Regions from separate parts of the Homo sapiens genome. Here region 1 is linked to region 2. The links are contacts of gene promoters, found by promoter capture Hi-C in human tissues and cell types (Jung and others, 2019). All regions are on one chromosome and are shown on one strand. Each heading gives the region's core, a stretch centred on a gene start or on the middle of the fragment in contact. The rest is flanking DNA. Distances are from core to core; before and after follow the strand shown. Region 1 overlaps ZER1 (zyg-11 related cell cycle regulator). Region 2 holds the start of ODF2 (outer dense fiber of sperm tails 2).

Region 1 (5,457 bases), core at 39-2,538, 270 kb after region 2:
GCACTCAGCCTGGGCAACAGTGAGACCTTGTCTGAAAAAAATAAAAAGTAAAGTCACTTCACCTCTCTGAGCCTCAGTGTCCTTGTCTGTGAAATGGATTATTGCCAGGGTTCTGAGGAAGCGGAAGGTACATGAAGCACTTAGCCCGGGGCCTGGGACACAGAATAAGGTTCAGCAGTGTTGGCTGCTGCTGGCAGGCACTGCCCTCATTCCCTCCGAGGCACAGACGACCCACCAGGGTTCTGAGGCAAACCACTTGATGCCCTTCCTGCCCAGGTCCTGTGGGTGGCCAGTGGCAGGGGGCTGTCAGCCAGGGGAGAGAGAGGCCAGGTCCAGGCCCTGCAGGGGGTGGAGAAGAGGGGACCTCGGCTTCACAGAGGCTGTGGGAGGAGTCAGTGCTCAGCTTCCAGAAATGCTTAATTGGGTCCTGATGCCCAGGCTTAAAACCTCACATAAAGGGTAAAATCCACACACTCACGGTGGCCTATAAAGGGTGTGACCGTATCATTTCTTTTTTGTTTTTTGAGACGGAGTCTCGCTCTGTCACCCAGGCTGGAGTGCAGTGGCACCATCTGTGCTCACTGCAAGCTCTGCCTCCTGGGTTCACACCATTCTCCTGTCTCAGCCTCTCAAGTAGCTAGGACTACCGGTGCCGGCCGCCTAGCGCAGCTAATTTTTTTGTATCTTTTAGTAGAGACGGGGTTTCACCATGTTAGCCAGGATGGTCTTGATCGCCTGACCTCGTGATCCACCTCGGCCTCCCAAAGTGCTGGGATTACAGGCGTGAGCCACCGCACCCAGCCCACCATATCATTTCTTATTCCAACCAGGCAGCTCTTAAGGATGACAAGGCACTGTTGATAGACGTGCGGGGACCACAGGTGTCAGCCAGGACGGCCCTGGGCCATGCTAGAGTCTGGGCACCTCACAATTTGGCACCAGCGACTTCCTGGTCCCCTCCCACTCTACCCTTGTTCCTCACGCTGCCAGGGCCACATGGGGCTGCTTCTCTGTCCACCCTGGCGGGACCCTCTGCTGAGGATGCACTTTTCCTCAGCCCCTCGGGCCAGGCCTGGGCAACCTCCTTCTTTTCCCTGGGTTTGGCTCCACTCTGTCCTCTTGTAAGAAGCCTCCCAGACACATGGGGACATCGTGCTGGCTCCTCCCCCTCTCCCCAAAGCACTGTGGCCCAGCGGACTCCAAGCTTCCCTGATCCGCCTGCCCACTCCCATCCACTGGCAGGAGGCACCTCCTCCGCTGCCTTCTCCCTGATGGTGGCACAGAGTTGTAATCTTCTATTTGCCATCTGTCTCCCCCATCAGGCTGAGCCATCTTAGGCAGGCACCCTGTTGGTCTGGTTGCCAGCTGTGTCCTCAGTGGGCACAGGGATGTGAAGAGAACACATAGGAAACAGGTACTCCAGCTCAGTCCCCTGCCACCTGTCCCCAGCCTGCAGCCCTTTAACCCACCAAACGCACCCCTCCCTACCACAGAACTACCTACACTGCAGCCCCCCTGCCAGGGGTGGCTCAAGCCCTGCTCCAGAGCCTGGAAGCCAGGCTAGCAATCCCCTCCACAAAAAAAGACGCTCTGTTTTCCATTTTGCACAAAAATGTATTTCTGTGACTTCCCAAAGTACAGACATTTCCCCAGGCCCCAGGGGGTAAAGCAATGAGGTGTGAAGTCTGCCAGGGTCTGGCCGGGGCCGCTGAGCGTGGGAAGGAAGGGAGCGCCGCATGCAGCCCATCTGCCAAGCTGGGGGAACACAGGGCTGCGCCCACTTCCCAGGGCCGGGAGGGAGAGGCTCCAGGAGAAAAAGGCCAGGTGTCTCTCCCAAAGCTGCTCACCCCTGCCGTCCTGCCTGGAGGCAGAAATGCTAGGAACACCTGAAAACAGGCCCGCGGGAGGAAAAGGGAAGAAAAAGCCATCACCCAAAGGCTGCCTCCAGGGTTAGCGCTGCTCCCCAGGCCCCTGCGCTCCACAAGTGTCCGATGAGAAGCAATGCAGTGTCCATCGATGGAGGAGCAAGAGAGCCGGCGCCTCTCAGGCTTCCAAGGTAAAGCCTAGGGCAGGGCGGGACCGCCAGGGAGGCCCAAGCGGCCACTGCAGGGCAGTCCGAGTGCTGGTCTGGAGGCGGCTGTGTGGCCGTTGTGGGTCAAAGGCTGTCATGGGACCTCTGCCTCTGAGAGGCGTGGGGTCCTCTGGGCAGCGGGGCAGGCTGGGAGGAGGAGGCAGGCTCAGTTCTGCTGGTGGGAGCGCCTGGGCAGTTGAGGGCTATGGAGCGAGGAAGCAAGCCCCTGGCCCCAGAAGATGCTAGCTTCCAGGGCTGAGGGCAGGTTCTGGATGTGTTTGGCAGAAGGGGCAGTGGAATCTGCCCCTGAGTTCTGACCATCCCTGGGCTGGGGCTTTCCACAGCCTGGGACCTGGTGGGAGACTAGGAGGCAGCCTCCATAGCAGCGTGGCCTCAGGCAGGCCTGGCTGGACAGCAGCAGGGCCACTGGGTGCCCTGCTCCTAGAGGGTCTTCAGGGGCAGGGCTGCCTGGACCTCAGCCTAGGAATGGCTCACTTTCCTGCCCCAGATGGCCCACAGCCGGGAGCACCAAGGCTTTTGGGAGACCCAGTGGGGTAAGTTCTAATCCCCAAACCCCATCAGCTGTGCCCGGGAGCCGAGATGGCGTTCTCAGGCAGGGGCAGTGGGTCAGGATGCTCGATACGCTGTCCAAGGCCTGCTCCTCTCATGAAAGGAAGCCAGGCCGGGATCTGAGTTTCCTGGACAAGGACTGGACACTCACAGCGTTATAGGCATTTAGTCTGGTTGGGGTAGGAGTGTGTGTGTCAGCGATGAAGGCTGAGTGGGTTTGAGAATGGCCAAGGAAGCTGCAAGGACTCAGGAGTGTTGCTTTTGTTTTTGCACAGAAATCATACACACAAAACTTCACACTTCCTAACCAAAAAAAAAATATATATATATAATATATATATATCTCACTAACATTAAGGAAAAGCGTCGGTTGTGCAAAAGTCCCCCATGTCTCTTCACTCCGTGGGAGGCTCCCTCGGAAGGGGCCCGCCCGCTGGGCTGCTTGAGCATGCTTCCTCCCCGCCTGTGGTCCAGAGCGGTGGCGGCCATGGGGACGGAGGCCTCTATCTAGACGTGTCCATGTTCTCCTCTTTAAAGTTACTGCAGTGCTCAATCACCTTGCTGGAGACAATGGGGGAGACAGGATTGGAGGGTGGGCTTGGGTGGGGGTGAGCCCAGCCCCTCCGAGATCATTAGGCAGCTGGGTAAACACGTGTTCATAGTGATGGTGATGCTGACCGAATGATGTGGACAGAGGGGCTGGCAGAGTGGCTGGCATGTGCAGGGGACTCAGGGAATGGCACCTGTGGCCGTGAATGCCATCACCAGCCATCCTCCGCTTCCTTCCTTTCCATGCCCCTCTTCTCCCACCCCCAGTCCCAGGGCATCTGTGGATAGGGGGTCCCCAAATCAGCTCAGGCCCGACCTCCAAAACCCTTTGGAAGTTTCTTTAGCGACCTCTTCTTCATTTTCCCTGCACACTAGACCCTTCTCTTTCCAGAAGTCCACCAGTGGTCCCCAAACTGACTGCACATCAGATTCCCCTAGAGGCCCGGATCCAGTGGCAGGTCCAGGGTCGGGCAGGGGCAGCTGTGCTCGCACAAGGGCCCCCACTACCCTGTGGCAGCCAGGGCTCAGCACTCCAGCTCAGATTTCGAGTCTCGCCCGCCCCAGCCTGACCCCTGCCACCCATCACTGTTGGTTGTCACCTTGGACCCCGGACAGCTTGCCCATTCAACACCAAGCCTGTGGTTTGGGGGCTTCACTGCAGCCTCTGTGTGTTAAAGGGATGCCCCAATACCTTTTAGGAAACAAATACCCAGAGTGGGAGAGAGGTCAGTGGACAGGCCGAGGGCCTTCTCCTAAGCATTGTCCAGGGTCATTTACTCCTTGCTGTCAGACAGGCCAGTGCCTCAGATTCCCATCACAGGCCTTGGAGAAATGTTCAAAGTGACTGTGGTAGGTAACTGGTCAGTCTTACCCAGTGCTTCTCAAATTTCCCGGGAATCCTTGTTAACCATGAAAATTCCAGGGCCACCTCCCACCTCCCGGATGTACTGGAAAAGAAAACCTAGGGGTGGGCCCCGTCCATTTATTTTTAAATTTTATTTTTTTGAGACAGAGTCTCGCTCTGTTGACCAGGCTGGAGTGCAGTGGCACCATCTCGGCTCACTGCAACCTCTGCCTCCTGGATTCAAGTGATTCTCCTGCCTCAGCCTCCCAAGTGGCTGGGATTACAGGCACGTACCACCACGCCGAGCTAATTTTTGTATTTTTAGTAGAGACGGGGTTTTACCATGTTAGCCAGGTCTCGAACTCCTGACCTCAAGTGATGCACCCACCTCAGCCTCCCAAAGTGCTAGGATTACAGGTGTGAGCCACTTCGCCTGGCCAGTAGCGCCTTTGGCCAGATATAATAGCAGAACCAGCTGACACTTCCCTCCCCTGGCCCAGGAAGTGGCTGGCTGAGGAGCCTCTGAGTTTCAGGCCCCTCCTCCATGTGAACTTTTGCTCTATACAGAGCCATGAAAAAGTGTGCTCGGGTCAGCTTGACTGTTCTCCCTTCTAGAATGAATCCTGGAGAAAACAAGGTCGTTCGACGATTTCGACACGTCGCATCCCTGAGAGTCTCTCGTGTCCTGATCAACTCGAGAACTGGAGGCGGTGACATTTTAGATGCTGCAGTGAAAGCCACAGAGCCACGGAAGGCCGAGACTCCACCATGTTTGTGATCTTCACATTCAGCAAACTCACTCGCACTCTGCCTCATCTTATCTCTAGAATGTATTTTACCACACTGTGTCCCTTCTTTAGTGGGAATGTCTTTGGCCAAAAATAATGAATAGTTCTGACCTGACTTGCTAATACCCAGTGATAAAAGGATGGAATTTGTTGGGAATAAAAGAAAACTAAGCTTACAAACGAGGGCCCTGATGCTCCGTTCCGAGCTTGGTCATCTAATTTCCAGCCACAATGTGGTCGAGATGACATTTGGAGAGGCCCCAGGTGGACATCAATACACTGTCAACCTCCATACTCAACTCTAAGCTGTCCCTGGGAATTTCAGCCATTCCTAACCTCCAGAGGGCGCCCGCTATGCCCTTACTCCCCTAAACCAAGGTTCCAGGCAGAAACACACTGCTGGTCTCTTACCGGGCCATTTCCTTGGTCTCCTGCCGTGCGGTCGCCATCTTAATTATGTCCCTCAGAAGGGGCATCCCCCCTTCTTTGATCAGCAGAGGGCAGTACTTGTCCGCTGTGGGATAGGAGCAGACAGCAGAGGATCAGGATGGGTCTTCTTATCAGCCCGAGGCCCAGAAACCCACCCTGTCTGTGAGGACTATCCTGGTGTCGGGGGTGTGAAGGCACAGCCCTTG
Region 2 (5,046 bases), core at 726-3,225:
CTTTTAGTAGAGACGGGGTTTCACCACGTTGGCCAGGCTGGTCTCAAATTCTTGACCTCAAGTGATCAACCTGCCTCGGCCTCCCAAAGTGCTGGGATTACAGGTGTGAGCCACAGCGCCCAGCCTAGAGTGAAATACTGAAAACCCTCTCATGGTTTTCCAGGCTTCTGAGGGATGAAGTCCAACACCTTAGGCTGGCCTATCAGACGCTGCATAGTCTGGTCCTGCTGACTTTGGCAGGATTTCTCTCATCGCTGGCCCTGTAACACTTCAAGGGACTGCAGTGATGATGCTTCATAGAATATGCAGTATTCTCTTGTACCTGCATGTGGTACCTGTGTACCTACTGCAGTCTGTTTAGAATTCCCTTTGCTGCTTGTTTGGCGAACTTCCACTCACCTTTCATGGCTCAGTTCCAATACCATCACCTCTGGGAACCATCTCCTGCCTGCCCCAGGAGGACCGGGACCTCCTTTTCCTGTCCTCTTTTCCTTGAACCTGTATATACTTTTTTTTTTTTTTTTTTTTTTTTGAGACAAGAGTCTCACTCTGTCACCCAGGCTGAAGTGTAGTGGTGATTTTGGCTCACTGCAACCTCCGCCTTCCAGGTTCAAGGAATTCTCCCTGCCTCCTCCTCCCTAGTAGCTGGGATTACAGGCACACACCACCATGCCCGGTTAATTTTTGTATTTTTAGTAGAGACGGGGTTTCGCTATGTTGGGCAGTCTGGTCTTGAACTTCTGACCTTAGGTGATCCGCCTGCCTCAGCCTCCCAAAGTGCTGGGACTACAGGCGTGAGCCACCGCAGTCTTAAATGGTTAATGAGGATTAGGAAATCTATCAATTATTCAACAGAGAGACAATGAATGGATCAAGGGATTGGGGAGCTCCCTGACATTACAGAACAAATTCAGTATGCAGTATACTGTGAAAGCGAGGCGGAAAAGCAGGTTTTGTTTGCGAGTCTGACTTTAGGATTGCAGGTGAAACACTTGTGTGACCCTGGAGCTGTGTGGCTAAGGTGCTGCGGGGTCACTGGAGAAAGGTCAAGGGACTGTGGCCCAGTTGGCCCGGAGGTGGTTCAGGTCTCCCAGATTCCAGGGCGGCATTATGAGCCACGTGACAGACCTCCCCTGACTGGCTGACAGTGAAGCATAATTGAGAAGATGGCGGACCAGCAAGGACCTCATCAGAATAGGTCTGTACACAGAGCGGCATAGAGAGTGCAGGAGGGTAGTAGACCGGGCGCGGAGGCTCAAGCCTGTAATACAAGCACTTTGGAAGGCCGAGGCGGGTGGATCATGAGGTCAGGAGATGGAGACTATCCTGCCCAACACGGTGAAACCCCGTCTCTACTAAAAATACAAAAAAAAATTAGCCGGGCGTTGTGGCGGGCGCCAGTAGTCCCAGTTACTCGGGAGGCTCAGGCAGGAGAATGGCGTGAACCCGGGAGGCGGAGGTTGCGGTGAGCCGAGATCGCGCCACTGCACTCCAGCCTGGGCAACAGAGCAAGAATCTGTCTCAAAAAAAAAAAAAAAAAAAAAAAAAAAAAAAAAAAAAAAAGTGCAGGAAGGTAGTGAACAGAACAGCAAGGGGAATGCCGACCCTTTCTCCTGTTGGGGCCAAGACAGAGGCGATGTGGGCAGGGGAGAGGCCGGGGAATGCGCAGAAGCCGACTCCATCTCCGCATTAATAGTGGACTAGGGGCAGGGCTGGATTTTCGGAGGCAGTGTGCAGCTCCCAATAACTAGTTCCATGGGTCCTCTGTGAGCCTAGTTTCCTGGTGGGTACCGAGGGGAGGGCGTCGGAACCGTACGCTCCTTTGAGTGAGGGGAATCCGGGAGGATCCAAGGCAGGGGAAACAGGGCCGAGCGGGAAAGGCCTTGAATGGGGGGCGAGACCCGGCCAGGCCCGCTGGACGCGTAGCACGTCTCCTTGGTGACGGGACGCGTGGCCCGGAAGTGGGCGGCCCTTCTGGCGGGGCGGGGCATCTCTGTGACGCTAGGGGCTGGGCCTCGATGGCGAAACCCAAGCGGCTCCCGGGGGGGTTTGAACTGGCCAATGGGCGAGCTGCCGACCGGGTGTCGGAAAAGGAGGCGGAAGCGGGGAGGAGCCGCTGCCAGAGCCAGACTGCATCCGCCGCGGCGTCTCCATGGCACGACCCTGGCCTCCGACTTCAACGACTTCATAAGGCGGCGTTTCTGGGCGCAGCCGTGTCGCTCCTGGTGAGAGGCCGCCGGCAGGCGGGATCCAGCGCCCTCCGGGGCACCGCGGGCGAGACCGTCGCCTTCGCACCCCCGGCGCGGTCGACCCCGCGGGGCCGTCGGGTCCTGGGTTCCCCGCCGCGTTGCGCTCGTCCCCCTCCTGTCAGAACCTGGGCCCCCGCCCCGCCCACCGGCGCGGGGCCTCTCCTCCTCCCGCTAACGGGCGGTCGGCCGCCTCCTTCCTCTCTTGGCTACCACGGGGCTCTGCCCCTCCTCTGCCGCCCGCGGGCAGGGCTTCACCTTTCTCTCTATGGGCAGAAACCGGTACCCTCCTGCCTGCTGGTGGGTGGCCGTCCCTTCTCTCCGCCGACAGAGGCTCTCCCTCGCTCTGCTGCCCGTCGGCGGCATCGCCCCGACCGCCTCGTCCTCTCCTCGGGCCTCCACATGGCAGTCACTTGTACGCCCTCCGTAGGCAGCGCTGTCCCCCGGGCACCGTCTCCGGCTTGCCAGGGCCCTCGCCCGGCGGGGGGGGGTCCCGCCCGCCCCCTCCCAGCCCGGCGTCTATCCTGCTCAGAACTCTGTTCGGTTTTCCCTCGCGGCGGGGCGCCCGGGGCCCGTGCAACCTCCGCGCCTCCCTCCTTTAAACACTATTGGTCCTCTCGGGCATCTGTTCTTCCGTAACGCCCCTTCTCCTAGGAGACAGTTGTCCGGCCCCGCCCCAGCATCCCCGCGGCTCCCTGCGCGGTTCTGGCCCTCTGGGGCCCACTTGGGGCCGAGCGGTTCTCACCCGCCCTCTCCGCACGTCCGCCGGCGCCTCAGGTTTCCCCCGGTAGCCACCGGCAGTCCTCCGCGTGGGACCCGGGCGCGGTGGTCCTTTCCCTCGCGGTTCTGCCCCGTCCCCTCCCCTTCCTCCCCTCTGCCCCCAGGTCGCTCAGCCTCTACTATTTCCCCCTACTTTGGCAGGACAGTTGCTGTGCGACTTGGACAGTAGAGGAGCGCCTCCCAAGTTTTCATCCAACTGCCAACCCCAAAGCTTCCACCCTTCTCCCCTCAGAGAGGACGTTTGATGCCGGGCCCCTTGAGAGGCTCATTGACAAGCCTGCCCCTCTGGGTCCCCCTGAGCAGAGCCTGCTGACCCAATTGCCCACCTTTGCGGCTTTGATGCCTAGCCATGTCTGCCTCATCCTCAGGCGGCTCCCCCAGGTATTGCCGATGTGGGAGGCGCCTGCGCCGGAGGGCAGGGAAAGGTGGCCAGGGGTCCCCAGGGCAGGCTCGCCTGAGGCTTCCAGCTTCCTCATTGTGTTTGCTGAAAGTCTGGACCAAAACGTTTAAAAATCGTTTTTAAAGGGAAGGGGGAACGAAATGTATACACAATCCTAGCTCTACCTCCCTCGCTCCTTCCCTCCCCAGATGTCACAGCTTCCTGGAAGCAAACAGGGTCACTCTTGTTGTCTTTATATAATAGAGTACTAGGTTCAGAGCCTTTTTGAAGGGAGTCGAGGTGTAAATAAATAACACGTAGGAGGTGGATGTGGCAGTTAGCAAGATAATGGAATCCAGGTGGTTTGACAAGAAACCCACTGAGAGATTTCCCAAAGCTATTGGCTTTACGTGAACAATGTTCTAAATGATTAGGGAAAAAAGCCTGTCTTCTCAGTTTTGGTATTCCTTGGCTAAAGGATCAGTAGAGGTCTATATATATATATATATTTTTTTTTTTTCCCCTCTTTTTAAAATCACGATGTAATACATATACAGCAAAACGCATACCAAAGTGCTCAAGTATTTTTTTCCTTGCATTTTGATGTTGCATTATTTTCCCCAAGTGTTTGTAAAGAGGGCAAGATGATAATTTTGGACCTCCCTGTCTCTGCCCCACCCTCCCTGCCACCCCCTGGTCGCTCCAGCCTCTCTGATCTCCCCCCACTTTGGGGGGCCAGGTGCGGTGGCTCATGCCTGTGCAATCCTAGCACTTTGAGAGGCCAAGGTGGGTGGATCACCTGAGGTCAGGAGTTTGAGACCAGCCTGACCAACATGGTGAAACCCCGTCTTTACTAGAAACATAAAAAATTAGCTGGGCATGGTGGCACACGCCTGTAATCCCAGCTACTCAGGAGCCTGGGGCAGGAGAATTGGAGAATTGCTTGAAGCCAGGAGGCAGAGGTTGCAGTAAGCCAAGATTGGGCCACTGCACTCCAGCCTGGGCGACAGAGCGAGACTCTATCTCAAAAAAAAAAAAAAAAAAAAGGCCAGGAGATGGATCAGATGGTTATTCCAAGGCCCTTCCCATCCTGGACTTTTTGGATATACTGCTGAAAGATTTTGGAGCAAATAGACTTTTGCTCTCTCTCTTTTTTTTTTTTTTATTTGGCTGTCTTTGCAGATCTGGTGATGGAGCTGTACAGTATATGTGTAAGCAAGGTGAATTAGACATGGCATTAAAAAAAAATCCCCTGCTGCTTGAGAGCTTAAAGGATAGCAAGTGGAATATTTTGGGAACTAGATACTTTTTTATTCTCTTAGGGGAATATTTGAGCCTTAATTTGATGAGTGTGCGTCACAGTGACCTCTCGTGCCTGAGCCTAATGCTCTTTGAAAAAATTTTTTTTTCTTTTTTGTTGTTGTTTTGAAACGGGGTCTCCCTCTGCCACCTAGGCTGGAGTGCAGTGGCGTGGTTACGGCTCACTGCAGCCTCCACCTCCCAGGCTTAATTGATTCTCCCACCTCAGCCTCCCGAGTAGCTGGGACTACAGACACACGCCACCACGCCAAGCTAATTTTTGTATGTTTTGTAGAGATGGGGTCTTGCCATGTTGCCCAGGCTGGTCTCAAACTCCTGGGC

What was found. Contacts are between HindIII fragments. The study calls those that stand out against the background at their distance.
Region 1: a contact is called between a fragment that was not itself captured here and the fragment with the promoter of ODF2 in region 2, in 1 of the 25 tissues and cell types used here (dorsolateral prefrontal cortex).

Annotation. Positions count from the first base shown.
Region 1 is chr9:128,728,193-128,733,649 of GRCh38, forward strand. ZER1 (zyg-11 related cell cycle regulator) reads right to left here. Exons shown (of 16, transcript NM_006336.4): 15 at 5,234-5,336; 16 at 1,594-3,202. The coding sequence ends at 3,145. It overlaps ZDHHC12-DT (ZDHHC12 divergent transcript), which reads left to right. Exons shown (of 2, transcript NR_046240.1): 2 at 4,650-5,051. Among named protein-coding and RNA genes, the nearest start is that of ZDHHC12-DT, 6.5 kb to the left of the region's middle. RefSeq lists enhancers at 544-1,375, 1,376-2,207, 4,001-4,501, 4,502-5,002. The HindIII fragment of the contact is 3,622 bases long and covers 1-3,099 here.
Region 2 is chr9:128,454,031-128,459,076 of GRCh38, forward strand. ODF2 (outer dense fiber of sperm tails 2) reads left to right here and starts at 1,976. Exons shown (of 21, transcript NM_001351578.2): 1 at 1,976-2,225. The coding sequence starts at 2,062. RefSeq lists enhancers at 1,049-1,785, 1,659-1,748, 1,786-2,521, 1,879-1,928, 2,522-3,257 and 1 more and silencers at 2,149-2,458, 2,589-2,688, 2,719-2,868, 3,079-3,128. The HindIII fragment of the contact is 20,941 bases long and covers 1-5,046 here.